3 separate regions of the Homo sapiens genome follow, and regions 2 and 3 are each linked to region 1. The links are contacts of gene promoters, found by promoter capture Hi-C in human tissues and cell types (Jung and others, 2019). All regions are on one chromosome and are shown on one strand. Each heading gives the region's core, a stretch centred on a gene start or on the middle of the fragment in contact. The rest is flanking DNA. Distances are from core to core; before and after follow the strand shown. Region 1 holds the start of SOWAHB (sosondowah ankyrin repeat domain family member B). Region 2 overlaps SEPTIN11 (septin 11). Region 3 overlaps LOC124900719 (a long non-coding RNA gene).

What was found. The method cuts DNA at HindIII sites, captures the fragments that hold promoters and counts their contacts. A contact is called where the count stands out against the background at its distance.
Region 2: a fragment that was not itself captured here is called in contact with the fragment with the promoter of SOWAHB in region 1 in 4 of the 25 tissues and cell types used here (IMR-90 fibroblasts, liver, mesendoderm cells and 1 more).
Region 3: a contact is called between a fragment that was not itself captured here and the fragment with the promoter of SOWAHB in region 1, in 3 of the 25 tissues and cell types used here (dorsolateral prefrontal cortex, mesendoderm cells and spleen).

The regions. Positions count from the first base shown.
Region 1 is chr4:76,896,727-76,899,430 of GRCh38, forward strand. It overlaps SOWAHB (sosondowah ankyrin repeat domain family member B), which reads right to left and starts at 1,418. Exons shown (of 1, transcript NM_001029870.3): 1 at 1-1,418. The coding sequence starts at 1,123. RefSeq lists silencers at 769-878, 1,139-1,438, 1,509-1,578. The HindIII fragment of the contact is 8,540 bases long and covers 1-2,704 here.
Region 2 is chr4:76,965,801-76,968,631 of GRCh38, forward strand. The region is part of intron 1 of SEPTIN11 (septin 11); the gene reads left to right. Among named protein-coding and RNA genes, the nearest start is that of SEPTIN11, 17 kb to the left of the region's middle. The HindIII fragment of the contact is 3,733 bases long and covers 1-2,831 here.
Region 3 is chr4:76,815,049-76,817,748 of GRCh38, forward strand. All of the region lies in intron 1 of LOC124900719 (a long non-coding RNA gene), which reads right to left. Among named protein-coding and RNA genes, the nearest start is that of SHROOM3-AS1, 14 kb to the left of the region's middle. The HindIII fragment of the contact is 6,102 bases long and covers 1-2,700 here.

The DNA of each region.
Region 1 (2,704 bases), core at 168-2,667:
CCGCCCAGGATTCCCAGGACTCATCCGGAACAACAGGAAAGAGAGAGTGCGAGGAAAGACAGGGGTCTGGCGGCTCTGAATTAGGCTCCGTGGAGCCGGGTTCCAAGGGCAGCTGGAGGAAGTTGTCTGGCAGCACCGACCAGGCGCGGATAGGGCCCTGATCACGGGCCTCGGGCACCTGCGGGTGCCTGGCCACCCACTCTCGAGTGCGCTGCTGCTGCTGCTGCAGGGTCGAATAATGCAGGGAGCTGGGGGTCAGCAGCTCCGGCCGGTCTCCGCGGGGAGCGGGGCCGGGCAGGAGAGCAGGCGGGGAAGCCCTGCTTGTCGCAGCCTCGACGGTGGCGGGAGGCGAGTGAGCCACTGCAGGCACAGGCGCCGGCTCAGCTAGCGCGCCTTCTTCCCGCTCCCTGGAAGCCCCGCGGTCATCCTGGGCAGGCAGAGCCCGTGCCGGCTTCTCCTCCGCGGTGGCCGAGTGCGGGAGTGCGCCGAGCTCTCCCGGCAGTACAGCCAGGTTGTTCTGGAGGCATTCCCAGCAGCAGCGGCCCTGCGTCTTCGCCGCCGCGCAGCTCGCTCTCGCCTGGGCCCCTGCCGCTGCAGCTGCGGGCACCGGCGGCCTCTGTCCGGGACTGCCCTTCGATCCGCCGCCCTTCCCGGGCGCCCTACGGGAGTCGCTGCCCGGGAGTCCATTGCAAGCTGCGTCGGCGGCTCTGGCTGCTGCACCTGCTGGCTCCTCCTCCGGCTCCTTCTCGCGCCGCCGCCGCCTGGGCTGCTGCTGGGGCGGCTCCCCCCGGCGCGCGCCTCGCGGGGAGCAGGGCGCAGCTCCCCCTGCACTGGGGGCGGCCGCGGGCGGCTCGCGGGGTCGCTGCAGCCCCTCCTCCCCCAAAAGGTCCCTGTATCTCCTCTTGAGCACCACGTACTTGGTGCCGTCGGGGTCCTGGCGCACTGCGGCGACCGAGTTGACGAAGCCCTTGAAGAGCTCGCGGCGGTGCTGGTGCTGGCTGGGGGACGCGTCGGGGTCTCGGAGAAAGCTCTTGAAGTGGCTCAGCAAGGCAGCGTTGGTCACGCGGCCCCCAGCCTGGCACAGAAAGTCCAGTAGTGCCTCCTGGCTCAGCTCTCGGGCCATCGCTGCCTTGTCCTCCGCCCCAGAGGTGTCTGAGTCTCGCCCTCCCGGGGCTCTCCCCAGCCAGAGGAAACCCTGGCCGGGCGAGTGTCACCTGCGCCCGGGGCGGCACTAGCCGCCCCCATCAGCCGCGGAGGCCAGCGCTGCCCGCAGCCCGTGAGCGCGCCAGGAGGGCCGTGGGTCCCCTCCGGGTGGCCCCAAGGCTGAGTCCCCGCGGCAGTCTGCGTGAGAGAGGGCGGCTCCGAGGCCGCCCCTGCGCGACTCTAGCCTCTCGCAACGAGTCCTCACAGCGAAAGTTCCCGGGATAGGGCCGAGTCGGTTTCACCTGCGCCCTGGCGGCACCTCCTCCCTGCCTCTGGGGGAAGGGTCAGGCCCGCCTCCTCGTGTCCCTCCGCCCCCTGAGGTCTCCCCCACCCCCTGCCACCCATCCCAGAAGAGTCAGGCCGGAGAGCCAGCCGGTAGGTGAGGTTGGCGGCGAACCGAGCCGGCAGCGAACTGCTCTGCGGCCGGGGAAGTGGAAGGCAGGTAGGCGACCGGCCGTTCCTCTAAGTCTCCGCCACGCAGGAAACAAAAGCGATAGAAGGTCCGTTCCTGTCCTCCGGTGCTTTGATGAGTTCAGGCTGAAGCCGATGGGGGAGGAGGAGAAGCTGCAAGTTAACAGGCAATCTGAGTTATCTTTCTTTATTAACGCTGTAGAGGAGTACTTCAGATTTCTCGAGGCTGTATTGAGGTCCGCAAAACTCACTTTGCATCCAAACTAAATTTTTCTTAATATAGAAATACTTTCTGGGCCGCTTCTCCGGCGCCCCCTCCAAGGGGTCCGAATACATCCAAGTCTATACTGAAAAGAGAAATCACTCTGAAAATTACTACTGGGCAATATTGGTTTGGGACTTTTTCTTTCATACTTGTCTTTCCTTCATACTTGTCTCACATTAAGGTGCTGGAAAAAAAAAATCACTTTGATAGCTTCTTGCCCCCGGCGGCTAAAATGAACTAGGAATTATGTCTCGCCAGTTAAGGTATTTGATGTGTAGCATTAGTTTGCTTTTATTTACTCTAAAATTTGTGAACAGCAGAGATTTGTACAGTGTTTTGTATTGGCTTGGTGAAGTGCTTCCTTTCAGAATGTAAGGTTCAAAATGCAGACTAGAGCTGTCTTTAACAGCACCTTTTCCCCCTAACAGCTGGGATCCCTCTTCCTTTTTCTCTCTCCACATGTTGACCCTTCTGTCTTTGATGTGAGATCCTGGATGTCCCTCACTGTTCCTTATCAGTCCTGTTGACATGCCTGAGATAGTTTTCACTGTCATTATCTCTTTACCTGTTTTAGTTCCAAGCCTTCTCTCATTCTTTTCTTTAACTTGGCCTTCCCATTTCTTTCTGTTACACGACATCCTTGTTTACCTTCGGCCTCTACTGACAGGAAATATGTCTGTTTCTCAGATCCTCTCATGTCCACTGTATTTCCCATTCAAAAACCTCGATTTTCTCCTTCCCTGTAATTTGCCTCTCTTTTCTCATGGACTCTTCTCATCTTTTCACTTTTCCTTTTGCTCTTCTATTTCTGATTACTCATAGTTC
Region 2 (2,831 bases), core at 264-2,763, 69 kb after region 1:
TCTAAATTTGGAACCCTATACACGGTATCTTAGGATTTAAAGGGAATGGTTTTGTGATGGTAAAAGGATCTTGTATCATCGGAAATGCTCTCAGGGCTTGGCTCAGCTGTCTATTGATGTAAAAAGATAATGTGCTTTAGAAAAAGAGCTATATTGAAATTTTCACCAACTTTCTGATGGACAACTGCAAGCTTTCAGCTATAAGAGGCTGCCATTTCTTTTACATGGTTTTGTCTCCAGCAGAGTCTGCCCTTTGTGTTCCCTTAGGCTTTGTTAACTATGTTCCTGGGAGAGAAGGAAAGTCTGTGTTTCATCTCATCATCTGTGTTGCAGTTTAGTCCAGTTTGCTTTATTCCATGGTGAGTGGAGAGAGTAAGTAGTTGGATGGCGCCCTACATTTTAATGTTACCACAACTCAAGATTTATGCTAGTTTTGCAAAGAATTCTCTCATGAAATGAGTTTTATCTCCACTTGACAAGAGACAGTTGAATCCACAGTAGGGCTAAGAAGAAGATTTAGGAAGATATTTGGTCAAATTAGTTATCCTGTGCTTTTTATGCAGGATAGAGACAGGAAACTGTTAAGGCTTGTAAAATGACTATGACCTGATTAGGCAAATATAGCAACTATTTTCAGCAAAGAAGCCACAAGATGAGTATAGCTGACTTTTTTTTTTTTTAATGTATAAAGTTTGGAGATTTTCCAGTGATTTTCTAATAGACCAAATTTAAATCTAACAATAATACATCTTGAAAAAAATTAAAAATTTATGTAATCAGCCAGGCATGGTGGCTCACACCTGTAATTCCCAGCACTTTGGGAGGCCGAGGAAGATAGATCACTTGAGCCCAGGAGGTTGAGACCAGCCCCGGCAACATGGTGAAACCCCATTTCTCAGAAAAAATACAAGAATTAGCTGGGAGGTGGTGGCGCTCACCTGTTGTCCCAGCTACTCCGGTGGCTGAGGTGGGAGGATCGCTTGAGTCTGGGAGTTTCAGGCTGCAGTGAGCCGAGATTGTGCCACTGTACTCCAGCCTGGGAGACAGAGGGAGCCCCTGTCTCAAAAAATATTAAGTAGTCTAGATCTCAGTTAATGCTTATGCTTTATTGTAGTTAGAAAAGTGCTTAACCTGGCCTGTAATCCCAGCACTTTGGGAGGCCGAGGTGGGCAGATCACTTGAGGTCGGGATTTTGAGACCAGCCTGGCCAACATGGCAAAACCGTGTCTCTACTAAAAATACAAAAATTAGCCAGGTGTGGTGGCTCACACCTGTAATCCCAGCTACTTGGGAGGCTGAGGCACGAGAATTGCTTGAGTCCAGGAGGCAGAGGTTTCAGTGAGCCAAGATCATGCCCCTTTACTGCAGCCTGGGTGACAGAGTGAGACTCCATCACAAAAAAGAAAAGAAAAAGTGCTTAACCTGATGTAGCTATAACATTAATAAGAAATAGAAATTTATCTAACTTTCTCTTTAGTTAATGGCCAATGGTTTATACACAGTTTTGGTTAAGCTTCAATTAGGTTCCGTGTTGAATTATTGATGGCATGGTAAGATGATAGTAAGGGAGGCAAATGTGTAAGCCATCTATGAATGAGCTTCATTATTTAGCTTATTTATTTGAGGGAGAAAAAGTACCAAAAAGGCAACCCACATTCTTCAGTTAAACTGCTGGAAAAACACATGCCACCTCTTGGCTCTGACTAGGAAATGGGGGCCTGATGGTGCCATAGTCTTCAGTTTTTCAAAAGAAGAGATGGACATTTGGAATTTGATGTGAAATTTCCACATCTGACAATGTTGGCAACTAAATGTTTTAAAAATACTGTGTGGGTCACATAAACACATTTGCTGGTTGAGTCTGCCAATTTGCAATCTGATTTCCATTGGAAATAAATTTATTTGTTTTTCTTGTATTTGAATAAAGGAACCATTAATAGTTTTTTTTTTTTTGGTATGCCTTTTAGAATGATTTAACATTTGAACAATTTAAGCTTTTTGTGTGTGCAGAAAATGTGGCTGCTTTTAAAATACAAGTGAAGCAAGTGCTTGAACTCTGATATTAAAACATATAGATTGGTTGAGGACAACATCAACATTTTTGAATTGTTTCTGTAACAGGATTTCTCCAATACAGGCCCGGCCATAAGAGAGCAAATTTGGAGAACCAAAAGTTGATGTATGGTGTGAGCAGGCCCACAGCTGAGGGAGTGGGAGGAATTCTAGAGTGTGTGGTAGCCAAGCAAATGTGGCTCCGCAAAAACATATGCTATATATAGTGAATGGGGTTGGATTTTCTATTTTTGGTTGAGTTCCAATGACAGTTAATGGCTGTTCCTATAGGCCATGAAATTATTTATGAATTCGGCAGTGGGACGATATAAAATGCAAGTTGATATAGGTAGAATAAAATTTGTTACCAAATTTCAACAAATTATTAGTGCTAGAGCCAGAAGGGCCTTCAAAGGTCACCTTATAAAGGACCTTCCTTTAAGATGAGGAAACTGAGGCCTGGGGAATTGAGGCTTAAATTTCCCATTAATCCTTATTGAGGCCTAAGGACTTAAGTTGAGGCTTAAATTTCCTGTTAATCCTTCCCTCTACAGCTGAAACCCAGCATCCTCCCTTCTTTTCGGTCTTCCTGCCTATACAAAAATGCATCTTCTACGAACTATTAGTGACAATTAGAGTCTCAGAAAAACAAAAAAGGCAGATGTTTTGTAAGCAGACTATTTAGAAAACATCTTTCTAAAAGGTTGATTTAGGCTGTCTTTCTAATTATTGGAACATTTTTATTGATAAAATTTCTGTTGTTTTTGTTATGAGTTTTG
Region 3 (2,700 bases), core at 11-2,510, 82 kb before region 1:
GTGTGGATTGTCTCTTCACTTTGTTTATTATTTCCTTTGCTGTGCAGAAGCTTTTTAACTCGATATATTCCCATTTGTCCATTTTTGCCTTGGTGGCCTGTGCTTTTTATTACTCAAGATATCTTCGCTCAGACCAATTTCCTGGAGAGTTTCCCCAATGTTTTCTTTTAGTAGTTTCATAGATTCAGGTATTAGATTTAAGTCTTTAATCCATTTTTATTTGATTTTTGTATATGGTGAGAGATAGGGGTCTAGTTTCATTCTTCTGCATATGAATATCCACTTTCCCCAGCACCATTTATTGAAGAGACTATTTTCTCCCCAGTGTATGTTCTTGGCACCATTGTCAAAATTGAGTTCACCATAGATGTATGGATTTATTTCTAGGTTATCTGTTCCGTTCCACTGGTATATGTGTCTGTTTTTACGCCAATACCATGCTGTTTTGGTTACAATAGCTCTGTAGTATAATTTGAAGTCAGGTAATGAAATTCTTCCACTTTCATTCTTTTTGCTCAGGATGGTTTGGCTCTTTTGGGTATTCTGTGGTTTCATAGAAATTTTAAGATTATTTTTTCTATTTCTGTGAAGAATGACATTGGTATTTTGATAAGGATTGCATTGAATCTGTAAATTGCTTTGGGTGGTATGAACATTTTAACAATATTGATTCTTCCAATCCATGAACATAGAATATCTTTCAATTTTTCTGTGTCTTCTTCAATTTCTTTCATTAATCTTTTGTAGTTTTCATTGTAGAGATCTTTCACTTTTTTGGTTAAGTTTATTCCTAGGTATTTTGTTTGTAGCTATTATAAATGAGATTACCTTCTTGATTTCTTTTTTAAATTATTTGCTGTTGGCATATAGAAATACCACTGACTTTTGTATTTTGTATCCTGCAACTAGACTGAATTTTTTTATCAGTTCTAATAGTTTTTTAGTAGAGTCTTTAGGGTTTTCCAAGTATAATATCATCTTTAAACAAGGATAATTTAATGTCTTCCTTTCCAATTTGGAGGTCCTTTATTTCTTTCCCTTGTGTGATTGCGCTAGCTAGGATTTCCAGTACTATGTTGAATAACAGTGGTGAAAGTGGGCATCCTTCCATCAATGATAGACTGGATAAAGAAAATGTATTATATATACACCATGGAATATTATGCGACCATAAAAAGGAATGAGATCATGTCCTTGGTAGAGATATGGATGAAGCTGGAAGCCATCATTCTCAGCAAACTAACACAGGAACAGAAAAGCAAACACCACATGCTTTCATTCATAAGTGGAGTTGAACAATGAGAACACATGGACACTAGGAGGGGAATAACACACACTGGGCCAGTCCAGGGGGTGCGGTGCAGGGAAGGAGAGCACCAGGACAAATAGCTAATGCATGCGGGGCTGAAAACCTAGATGGTGGGTTGATAGGTGCAGCAAACCACCGTGGCACACATATACCTATACAACCTGCACATTCTGCATGTGTATCCCGGAACTTAAAGTAAAACAAAAATTTTTAAAAAATTAAATAAATAAAGTGGGCATCCTTGTCTTGTTCCAGATTTTAGAGGAAAGGCTTTCAGTTTTTTCCTACTCAGTGTGATACTAGTTGTGGGTCTGTCATATATGGCTTTTGTTGTGTTGAGGTATGTTCCTATTATATCTAGTTTCTTTAGGTTTTTTTTTTTTATCATGAAGGGATATTGAATTTTATTAAATGCTTTTTCAGCATCAATTGAAACAATCATATGGTTTTTATTCTTCATTCTGTTGATATGAGGTATCACATTGATTGATTTGCCTATGTTGTACCATCTTTGCATCCCTGGGATAAATCCCCCTTGGTCATAATGAAGATCTTTTTAATGTTTTGTTGAATTTAGTTTGCTAGTATTTTGTTGAGGATTTTTACATCAATGTTCATCAGGGATATTGGCCTATAGTTTTCTTTTTTTGATTGTCCTTGTCTAGTTTTGGTATCAGGATACTACTGGCCTCACAGAATGAGTTTGGAAGTACTCCTCTTCTATTTTTTGGAATAGTTTGAGTAGAGTTGATATAAGTTCTTTAAATGTTTGGTAAAATTCAGCAGTGAAGCCATTGGGTCCTGGTCTTTGCTAGGAGACTTTTTAATACAACTTCAATCTTGTTACTTGTTATGGGTCTGTTCAGGTTTTGGGTTTCTTCATTGTTCAGTCTTGGTAGGTTATATATGTCTAGGAATTTATTCATTTATTCTGTGTTTTCCAGTTTGTTGGCATAGAGTTGCTCATAGTAGCCTCTAATGATCTTTTGAATTTCTGCAGTACTGGTTGTAATGTCTCCTTTTAATATCTCTGATTTCATTTATTTGGATCATCTCTCCATTTTTGTTTTGTTTTGTTTTTGAGACAAGGTCTCACTCTGTCTCCCAGGATGTAATGCAGTGACATGATCACAGTTCACTGCAGACTCCATCTCTCAGGCTCAAGTTATCCTCACATCTTGACCTCCCGAGTAGCTAGGACTACAGACACATGCCACCACAGTCAGCTAGTTTTTTCTACCTTTTGTAGAGACAGGGTCTCACAATGTTTCCCAGACTGTTCTCTATTTTTTTCTTGTTAGTCTGGCTAAAGGTTTGTCAATTTTGTTTATCTTTTCAAAAAAACAACTATTTGTTTCATTAATCTTTTGTATTGTTTTATTTGTTTCAAT